Regions from separate parts of the Homo sapiens genome. Here regions 2 and 3 are each linked to region 1. Evidence: promoter capture Hi-C in 16 types of primary human blood cells and fetal thymus (Javierre and others, 2016). All regions are on one chromosome and are shown on one strand. The core of a region is centred on a gene start or on the middle of the fragment in contact, and the rest is flanking DNA. Distances in the headings are between cores, read along the strand shown. Region 1 holds the start of ADAMTS4 (ADAM metallopeptidase with thrombospondin type 1 motif 4). Region 2 holds the start of DUSP12 (dual specificity phosphatase 12). Region 3 holds the start of ATF6 (activating transcription factor 6).

Evidence for each region. Contacts are between HindIII fragments. The CHiCAGO score rates a contact against its expected background, and 5 or more counts as called.
Region 2: the fragment with the promoter of DUSP12 here is called in contact with the fragment with the promoter of ADAMTS4 in region 1 in 7 of 17 cell types (erythroblasts, naive B cells, neutrophils and 4 more); the score reaches 7.7 in erythroblasts.
Region 3: a contact is called between the fragment with the promoter of ATF6 here and the fragment with the promoter of ADAMTS4 in region 1, in 1 of 17 cell types (neutrophils). The highest score is 5.8, in neutrophils.

What each region holds. Positions count from the first base shown.
Region 1 is chr1:161,197,294-161,200,453 of GRCh38, reverse strand. ADAMTS4 (ADAM metallopeptidase with thrombospondin type 1 motif 4) reads left to right here and starts at 1,400. Exons shown (of 9, transcript NM_005099.6): 1 at 1,400-2,459. The coding sequence starts at 1,827. It also overlaps a transcript of NDUFS2 not described here. RefSeq lists enhancers at 1-135, 2,661-3,160. The HindIII fragment of the contact is 11,321 bases long and covers 1-3,160 here.
Region 2 is chr1:161,748,518-161,751,680 of GRCh38, reverse strand. DUSP12 (dual specificity phosphatase 12) reads right to left here and starts at 1,895. Exons shown (of 6, transcript NM_007240.3): 1 at 1,536-1,895; 2 at 1-13. The coding sequence starts at 1,879. RefSeq lists enhancers at 879-1,525, 1,587-2,096. The HindIII fragment of the contact is 617 bases long and covers 1,500-2,116 here.
Region 3 is chr1:161,764,853-161,768,368 of GRCh38, reverse strand. ATF6 (activating transcription factor 6) reads right to left here and starts at 2,049. Exons shown (of 16, transcript NM_007348.4): 1 at 1,927-2,049. The coding sequence starts at 2,008. It overlaps ATF6-DT (ATF6 divergent transcript), which reads left to right and starts at 2,222. Exons shown (of 3, transcript NR_187280.1): 1 at 2,222-2,539; 2 at 2,868-2,945. LOC124904444 (a long non-coding RNA gene) reads right to left here and starts at 1,920. Exons shown (of 2, transcript XR_007066695.1): 1 at 1,563-1,920. RefSeq lists enhancers at 2,042-2,121, 2,152-2,231. The HindIII fragment of the contact is 8,902 bases long and covers 1-3,516 here.

The sequences.
Region 1 (3,160 bases), core at 151-2,650:
AGACTGCTGACTGCACTCTCCTTCCTGGGGATTTCCTGGGGAAACAAGCAGCCAGAGGATGGGGTGAGCAGAAATTGCCCCTACTTCTGAACCCTTCCTTGCCTTGAGAGTTCATACCCAAGACCTCTTTTCCGAGTTCCCTCCTATCCAAAGCCAAAGGAATAATTTGCTTCCTTTCCCTAACACCACCTCTTCCTCCCCAGCCACTTTCCCCACCCCAGGCAATGGATTTCTCCCAGTACCCTAATTTCCCTATATGCACAATGCTGTCTCCACCCTCTCCCTGCCCCAGGGAGAATTAAAAAGAAAAGATGACTAGATATTCCAGGAACCACTGGGTTCTCAGAGCAAGGTGGGGTGGATGGTGGGAGCCAGGTGGGGATTCTCCCAGATTGATACTGGGTGAATCTGGGTTCCTGAGAGCAAGTCTTGCCTATGCTGGGGGCTGGCTGACTTGAGGCTGGGGGAGGGTTTAGGGCAGTTGGGAGTGGGTAGGAGCAGGGCCAAAAGCCTGGGGGAAGCTACTGGGAGCTGGGCCAGGGAAATGGGGAGTCAGGAAGTGGGGAGGGGGAACCCTGGGGGGAAATGGAGGCGGAATGGCTGTTCTGGGCTTTGGAGGGGGTGGGTAGTGGTAACTCAGGAAGGGGGATCCTGAGGGAGAGAAGGGACGTTAGAAAAGAGGAGGTGCCACCCTGGATCCGCCTTCTATAAAAGGAAAAGTCGTTAACCCCTCCTGCCTTGTCATCTGCCGCCTCTGTTATGTTCATTCCAAGCAGGATCATCCTACCTTTGGGCAGTCAACTCCCTGATCACTGTCTCCTTGCCTCCCCCAATGTTCTGCCTTTTTTACTCTTCCCAGCTGCTCAGTTCTATCCTGAGCCATGTCAAGCTACCTCTTTTATTTGTTCTTCCCTCTTGATGCCTCCTTACCTGTTCCCTACCCTCTTTTCTCAGGCAGCTCACTCAGTCCCCTCAGCCCTGGAAACCAGCCACTAGGGCCAAAGGGCAGCATGAGGGAGCCTTGAGAAAAGAGAAGCCATGGTAGGTTAGACTATAAGAGCAGGAATTCTCCCAGGACCGTGATCCTATCTGTGCATGCCGGCCAGGCCCTTTCCCTCACTCTCTGCCTCTCCTGGGGCTCTGTCCCACCAAAAAGGGAAAGAGACAGCTGAGGGCTGATTGTGGGGTTTGGGAAAAGGCTATGTCATCAGCTGGCCCAGTGCCTATTATCCATTCGGCTGCTAGAGATTCCCCTCCCCTGGGCAAGTCCCATTTTTTTGGGAAGCGATGATACACCCATCTGAGTCCCACCGACAGAGCTCAGCTGAGTGGCTTAGAGATCAGCCAATCAATCGCAGAGGCTCACCATGCTTAAAAGAGCTGGCGCGGAGAGAGGCTGGGGAGAACCCACAGGGAGACCCACAGACACATATGCACGAGAGAGACAGAGGAGGAAAGAGACAGAGACAAAGGCACAGCGGAAGAAGGCAGAGACAGGGCAGGCACAGAAGCGGCCCAGACAGAGTCCTACAGAGGGAGAGGCCAGAGAAGCTGCAGAAGACACAGGCAGGGAGAGACAAAGATCCAGGAAAGGAGGGCTCAGGAGGAGAGTTTGGAGAAGCCAGACCCCTGGGCACCTCTCCCAAGCCCAAGGACTAAGTTTTCTCCATTTCCTTTAACGGTCCTCAGCCCTTCTGAAAACTTTGCCTCTGACCTTGGCAGGAGTCCAAGCCCCCAGGCTACAGAGAGGAGCTTTCCAAAGCTAGGGTGTGGAGGACTTGGTGCCCTAGACGGCCTCAGTCCCTCCCAGCTGCAGTACCAGTGCCATGTCCCAGACAGGCTCGCATCCCGGGAGGGGCTTGGCAGGGCGCTGGCTGTGGGGAGCCCAACCCTGCCTCCTGCTCCCCATTGTGCCGCTCTCCTGGCTGGTGTGGCTGCTTCTGCTACTGCTGGCCTCTCTCCTGCCCTCAGCCCGGCTGGCCAGCCCCCTCCCCCGGGAGGAGGAGATCGTGTTTCCAGAGAAGCTCAACGGCAGCGTCCTGCCTGGCTCGGGCGCCCCTGCCAGGCTGTTGTGCCGCTTGCAGGCCTTTGGGGAGACGCTGCTACTAGAGCTGGAGCAGGACTCCGGTGTGCAGGTCGAGGGGCTGACAGTGCAGTACCTGGGCCAGGCGCCTGAGCTGCTGGGTGGAGCAGAGCCTGGCACCTACCTGACTGGCACCATCAATGGAGATCCGGAGTCGGTGGCATCTCTGCACTGGGATGGGGGAGCCCTGTTAGGCGTGTTACAATATCGGGGGGCTGAACTCCACCTCCAGCCCCTGGAGGGAGGCACCCCTAACTCTGCTGGGGGACCTGGGGCTCACATCCTACGCCGGAAGAGTCCTGCCAGCGGTCAAGGTCCCATGTGCAACGTCAAGGCTCCTCTTGGAAGCCCCAGCCCCAGACCCCGAAGAGCCAAGGTAGGCATCTCTGGAGTCTGTGTCCTGCGGTGTCCTCCCGCCATGTCTGTCCTACTGACCCCTATTCACCCTCTCTCCACCCACTTACACTTCTGGCCGTTCTGCTTCCCTCCCTTCTGCCTGCCTTTCCTTTCTCCATGAGCCTCCTTTCTTGGTAAGGCTCAGGCCTCTCCCCTTCACCCTTCTCCTAGCCAGACCCACCGAGGGTTCTCAGAGGTGGGTCACAGACTCTGGGCTGGGAATAACTGCTCCCTCTCCCCACCCCACCCCTTCCTGGCCATGGCATCTCCTACTGACACAGTCCCCAGCAGTAAAGGTCTCCTAACAGCCCCTTGGCCTTGGCTCTTTTCTCTGCTCCAAATTTGATTTTCATCCCCCACTCCCAGCTATAGGAGTCAGGTTTGAGGCCCTAGGGCTTGGTGTCTGGCTTCTGATGCTGCCTTTAAAATCACTGTGGCAAACTGCAAACTAGGGCAGGAGTGGCAAGAGAGGGAGGGTATCCCATACCTCCTTCTGGTCAATCCCCTTCACACACTGTGGCCGGACTGCGAGGCTGCCTGAGGCTCCATCCTTTCCTCCCTCCCACTCCTGGTCTCCCCCTTCTTCCCTTCCCTCCTCCCTCCTCCCTCTCTAGCTTTAATCCAGACCAGACGCTCCCTCCACAACCGCCACGCTGAGCTCTGGCCCTGGCCCTAGCTGCT
Region 2 (3,163 bases), core at 646-3,145, 550 kb before region 1:
GACTCCTGCATGACTGAAAAAGAGACCTTTAAAATAAAACAGCAAATAGCAACAATTAAAAAAAAAAACACACAAAGCCCAGCCCCCTATTAATAGTAAAGTTTAGGCCCACTTCATTTTTGCTTCTCAAATAAGCCCATTGCCTCTGAAATATTATCAAGGTACAAAATAATTATTCCTTTTTCCTTTTGAATTCTGAACCACGTGAATCTATTACCTATTCAAAAATAATAACAGTAATTTTTAAAATTTTTATAATGGCTCAGAACAAATCCAAACTCCTGGCTAGACACAGTGGCTTACCTACGCCTGAAATCCCAGCACTTTGGGAGGCGAGGTGAGAGGATTGGTTGAGTCCAAGAGTTGGAGACCAGCCTGGGCAACAAAGTGAGACCCCACCTCTACAAAAAATTAGCCGGATGTGGTGGGGTCTGTAGTCCCAGCTACTCTGGAGGCCGAGGCAGGAGGTTCACTTGAGCCTGGGAGGTTGAGACTGCAGTGAGCCGTAATTACGCTACTACACTGTAGCCTGGGTGACAGAGCAAGACCCTATATCAAAATAAAAATAAATAAAACAAAACAAAAACAAATCCAATCTCCTTTCATCTTAGCATTCAGGGACCTCAAAATCTGGTCCCAGACTTCTTTTGATTTCATCACTATCTTCTTTTATGTGCTCAATAAATTTAAACGATTATTATACTCCAATCCAACCAAGAACTGCTTAGGGATTCCCATTTTCTTTTTTTGGGGGGAGGGATGGAGTCTCGCTCTGTTGCCCAGGCTGGAGTGCTGTGGCATGACCTCGGCTCACTGCAACCTCCGCCTCCCAGGTTCAAGTGATTCTCCTGCCTCAGCCTCCCGAGTAGCTGGGACTACAGGCGAGAGCCACCACGCCCGGCTAATTTTTGTATTTTTGGTTTCACCATATTAGCCAGCCTGATCTCGAACTCCTCACCTTGTGATCCTCCTGCCTCCCAAAGTGCTGGGATTACAGGCGTGAGCCACCGCGCCCTGCGGGATTCCCATTTTCTTTTTGTCTTTGCTGCAACCATCTCCTCCCTAGGCAAAGCCCAGGGATCCTTTAGATCCAAACCAATTCATCTCTTCATCAACCACCCGCCACCCATCCCAAACAAAAACATTTAACCCTAAATCTTTGTAAATCCCGTTTACAAGACACCAAGCAACCTAATCTGCATTACAATAATCGGGGTGGGTGTCTAGCTTCTCCAACAGAGCTGTAAACTCCTTAGGGTGTAGGTAATTTGTCATTTATCAGATGACACCTCCCCCGCCCTCTGCTGCTGCAGGAAGAACCAACTAAAGCATGAATGAATGAAAGCCTGCACACACCAGGGGCCCGCCTCAACCCTCCTCCTCTCTTGGAAACACGCCTCCTGCGGGAGGCAGCGGGAGGAGGTTCACGCGGCATGACCGCGCTCTTGTCCTCCCGACGGCCTCGGAAGGTAAGGGGCGACGGGGGCCGGCTGGAAGCTTGGCGGGGCACGTCACCCACTGACCCGGCCACTCACCAGTGCACCAACACCGCACGGCCCTCAGCGCGGGCCTGACCGATGAAGGCCACGCACCGGTCCAGATGGCTGAGTAGGTCCGTCTCGGGTTTGTCCAGCGCTGGCACGAAGAGGCGCCATAGATCCTCGACCCCAGGCCCCGCCTTGAAGCTGGGCTCCTCCGAGTCCACTGTTAGCACGGCCGTGATGCCCGCTTCCCTCAGGTGATCTGGCTCCGCGACGGCCGCGGCCCCACCGAAATACAATCCTGGCTGCACTTCCAGCATCTGCCCGGCACAGCTGACTCTGCTGGCGCTGGGGTTGCTGAGCTCGCAGCCATCACTCGGGCCCGGAGCCTCCAACATGGCCGCGCCCAGAGACAAGGCGGCTTCCTGCCCTACCATCGAGTAGACTCCGGCTAGAACATCCTTCCCCTGGGACTCGCCAGCCTCGGCGGCTCTGCTGCTCCCTCGGAGGACCACGTCGGCCGCAGGAATCTGGACTTATCGCTGAGGGGCGGAGCTTCGGCCCCATTCAGCGCGGCCTTTCCACCCTTGTTCCCTCTGACCCCTACCCCCAAAGTTGATGGTGAAGGATAAGCTTCCCCAAATACAGGGTTTCTCGAGCTCTTAGTATTGAAATTTTCAGGAAAGAGACATCAGGAGCAGCTGAACTCAAATGTGAAATAAATGTCGCACCAGCTGAATCAGAAGCATCATTTTATGCATTTGAAGTAAAATTTTTTTCAATATTATGGAGCCATCTTTACTGTGCATTTCATGATTATTTTTCCTTTTTCTGCCCAATTTCATTATTGGGGTGTGAATCCTTGTTGATGTTTACTGTCTATTTATTTTGAAGATACTAATCCTATATTTTTGTAAGTCAATGTCCTCCGGCCAGGACTACAAGAAACCAACTTTAATTAAGCAAGTTGGTTTTATTACTCAGTCATGAGTTATGGAGAATTTCAGGGCATCTCAGCACGAGGATGTTAGGAAGATCCTCTACAGATTTTGGGCTTTTATTTGGGGATTTTGGAAAGGGTTGAAGGAAGCAGGCTTTGCTCCAGACTGAATGCTGCAGGAAGATACTCAGTACAGTGAGTATATTTTATATATCTTTTGTATAGGGAGGACAGGTGAGAGAGATACTAAAGCTGTAATTGGTCAAGAAGTAGCAGCTATAGTACTGGTATAAAGATAGATACATCGACGTGTCTCTATTCTGGAACAGAACAAACCCTTGCGTGTGGAGTCCTAATTAGGGAAAAGGAGTCAGGCTGGCTGGACGAAGGGAAGCAAAAGGAGAAAGCAGACAAGCCATAAGTCTGCCTTTCTTCGTGGTCCAGGACACATAGCCCTGCTGTGCAAATAACTCACAATCTGCCTGTGCCCAGCCATCACCAGACCCTCAGCTGATAGAAAAATGGAAGTTAGTTCACTGCAACCCTGGCATTATTAGTACTGCACAAAGCCCTCTTCCACCCACAACATAAGCACCATTCTACAAAATCCCCAGCAAGCCTTTGTTTCCTAGCAGTCAGCTTCTCTCTTGCTGACCTGCCTGTTGCACCCTTGCAATGTATTTTCATACTTTATCTAATAAACCTGCCTTTCTTTACCTACAACTGTGTTGGTAAATTCTTC
Region 3 (3,516 bases), core at 800-3,299, 570 kb before region 1:
AAAACAATGGAAATGGGCACATTCAGGGAGGGACAGGGCAGGATACCCGATAGAAGTGAGTCGGTGAACTGACTACAAAGAACTGAATGCTCTGTTAGAGAACATTAAGTCAAGTGATCAGATAAGTCTGGAAAATGCAGCCTGGGTATCAGAAGACGACATAAAATTATGCTACCAGGAAGTGTCCCACAGTTATACTTTAAGAAATGTCACTGGCCGGGCACAGTGGCTCACACCCGTAATCCCAGCACTTTGGGAGGCCGAGGTGGGCGGATCACCTGAGGTCCAGAGCTCCAGACCAGCCTAACCAACATGGAGAAACCTCGTCTCTACTAAAAATACAAAATTAGCCGGGCGTGGTGGTGCATGCCTGTAATCCCAGCTACTCGGGAGGCTGAGGCAGGAGAATCGCTCAAACCCGAGTGGCGGAGGTTGCGGTGAGCCAAGATTGCGCCATTACACTCTAGCCTGGGCAACAAAAGCGAAACTCCATCTCAAAAAAAGAGGTAAAGAAAAGAAATGTCATGAAAATATAATAGCTGACTAGCTGACAAAATAAATCATAACTACCCAATATATTCAAGTAGTCTTATTAATAACCAGGGATCTTAGGAAGAATAAAATCTGTAGACATGAGTTAGGAAAGCATTATAGAATAGATGCTAGGGGTACAGACTTTGGAGGTAGAAAAACCTGGTCTGATCCTTCTTCTGCCACTAACTAGCTCTAAGAATCTGAGCACAAATTCTGTTAGCCTCAGTTTCCTCATCTCTAAAATAAACAGTACCTCATTGGACTGTTGGTAGGATTAAACAAAATACTTCATGTCAAGAGTTTAACAGGGTCCCTGACACAAAGAGCTAAATAAATGGTTACTGTCACTAATGCATTTGGCTTGGGAAAATGGGAATAAAAAATCTTAAGTTTTCCAGCAACTCTTAAAAAATCTACCCAAGGATTAAAATAAATCTCCAATAGAATATAGTTTTAGAGAACATCTGTCCTTGAAACAATTAAATGACTTTGTTCAATAAAAAGTTGAGATTCCTTCCACTCCTGCTATTGAGAATGCTGATCCAAGGGAGAAAGATAAACTGGGTTCCCCCCAGTTCCAAGGCTGATGAGTGGTGTAGGCTCACTAGCGGGCCCATTTGGGAACCTACACAATCCCAAATTCATATTGGAACCTAAGAACAATATTACTATTATATCTTGCAATCAAGAGGAGAATAAAAGTCTCCTCTAAATACTTAGATAACAAAGTTTCTTCATTCTCATTTCCACTTCATCCCATTCCACCCTTCCTGACCACCAAAACCAAACAAAATATCCATTAACAAGAAAATTAAGAGCTGTATCTGGAGAGCAGTCAGGATTACACCATAAGTATTAGGTGTAGCTAAGCAGGGACCCGAGGTCAGGTGCTTGGGTGTTTTGCTTTTCTGCCAAGACGGACATCAGGCTTAAACCAATAGTAAAAGCTGTAAGATTAGAATTTCTTGTATATAACCACATTCTCTCATATACACCAAACACACAAAAACCCACTCCATTGTGCTCACCGCCCACATTTCACACTCAGGAAATAGCTTGTAGCCTTTTTGGCGGTCCCAGCCATTTTGCTCTAAACCTCCTAAAGACGTCCAGTGTTAGCCACACAAAAAGATCACCCGGTACTTCCCCAGTGGGAATAGTGAAAAACGACAGTTAACTCCAGTTAGACAATATTCTACTCTCCCTGTGGCCAGGACAGAAGCCGAACGATACTCCCAGACTCTTCCAGGGGCACGAACAGGAGTGACGAGGGGCCTCACTCCCCAGGCAGGGTTGGTCCACACCTGTCACCACGAGTGGGCGGAAGTAGGGAGGAAGAAACCTTTAGACGCGAACCCGAGCCACCCTGGTACATTCTCAGATCCCACTCACCCCAATCTTCATCCAGCCTGTGAAAGAGTCCCGGGCTAAAAGGTGACTCCATGGTGCCGGCAACCCCAGCCGGCTCCCCCATTTCACAAGTTCCTTCTCCCTGGAACTCCGTGATTAATATCTGGGACGGCGGCGGCAGGCGGACAAAATACTCCGTAACGCTGACGAGACGGTGGCCTAGTAAAGACAAACTACTTTTGCCGCACGAGGGATTTGTACGACACAGGAAAACGTCAGAGACTAAGCAAATTTGAATAGACCTCTGAGTAAATATTTCCCTTTTGGAGTTTTCAGGACTTTCTGTCCCGCTGTTTTATGGGGAAGGCGGGGGAAGACACGCAGACATCAATTCGACTAAACAAAGTTTATCAATAATATTAAAAATAAAAAGTAAAGCCCCTTTCTGAACATTATGGCTTATTCCTTGATTATCCTTCTTAATGCCACAGCGTGGCTATCTCAGAACAAAATTAGAGACTAACAGTAAATTTACTTTAATTTTTACGAATAATTCTCTATCAATGTAAAAATTTTTCATATACGCGTGTATGAAAGAAAAACACTACTATTTTTCCACATTCGTGAAAACTGCTTAACTGGGACAGTAACCGAGGTAAGTGGTACTATAAAACATACTTCTAGAAAGACTACTTTTATTTAAATAAATTGAAACAAAGCAAATATAAAAAGATAAACCCCCCAAATTTATCTCCTAAAGATAAATTTCTAAAGCATAGTATTTAGTCAAAGTCCAAGCGAGTCTACCCTAAGACCTACAGTAATCGAAGTTCCCAATATTTGTATTACTAAAGATTCGGGTTTTATTTAAAGGAAAATCACATACATCACGAACTCCAACTGAAAATATGAACTGAGTTTGATAAAGCAGTTTCAAGAACGCTACTTAAGAGAATTTCTTTTTCATCCATTTTAAATTTCAGCGGCCAGTGAATATTTAAAATACTGTAACCGACGAATACGTATGCTTCTAGGACCACGTGGAATCTTTCCCATGGTAGGTAAGCAAAACAAATGTGCTTCCCAGAACCCTCCAAACTGCTCGTGGGTATATTACTACAGATTACATAATGCAGCAGCGTTCCGGGACGCAAGCCCAGAAAAAGATAATTAAATCCCCTTACGTCAGATGTAACTACTTTTGTCATTAGAAAACTAATAAATTTTCACTTAAGGTGAAATTTATAACACTTTAATTCTCACCCAATTACAAATTCAAAAATTGACATAAAAAACTAAAATAAGGCCGGGCGCGGTGGCTCACGCCTGTAATCCCAGCACTTTGGGAGGCCGAGGCGGGCGGATCACGAGGTCAGGAGTTCGAGACCAGCCTGGCCAACATAGTGAAACCCTGTCTCCACTAAAAATACAAAAAGTTAGCCAGGCGTGGTGGCGGGCAAGTAGCTGTAATCCCAGCTACTCGGGAGGCTGAGGCAGGAGAATCGCATGAACGCGGGAGGCAGAGGTTGCAGCGAGCGGAGATCGCACCACTGCACACCAGCCTGGTCGACATTGCGAGACTGCGTCTCAAAAAAAAAAAAAAAAAAAAAACCTAAAATAAAATAAAATCAT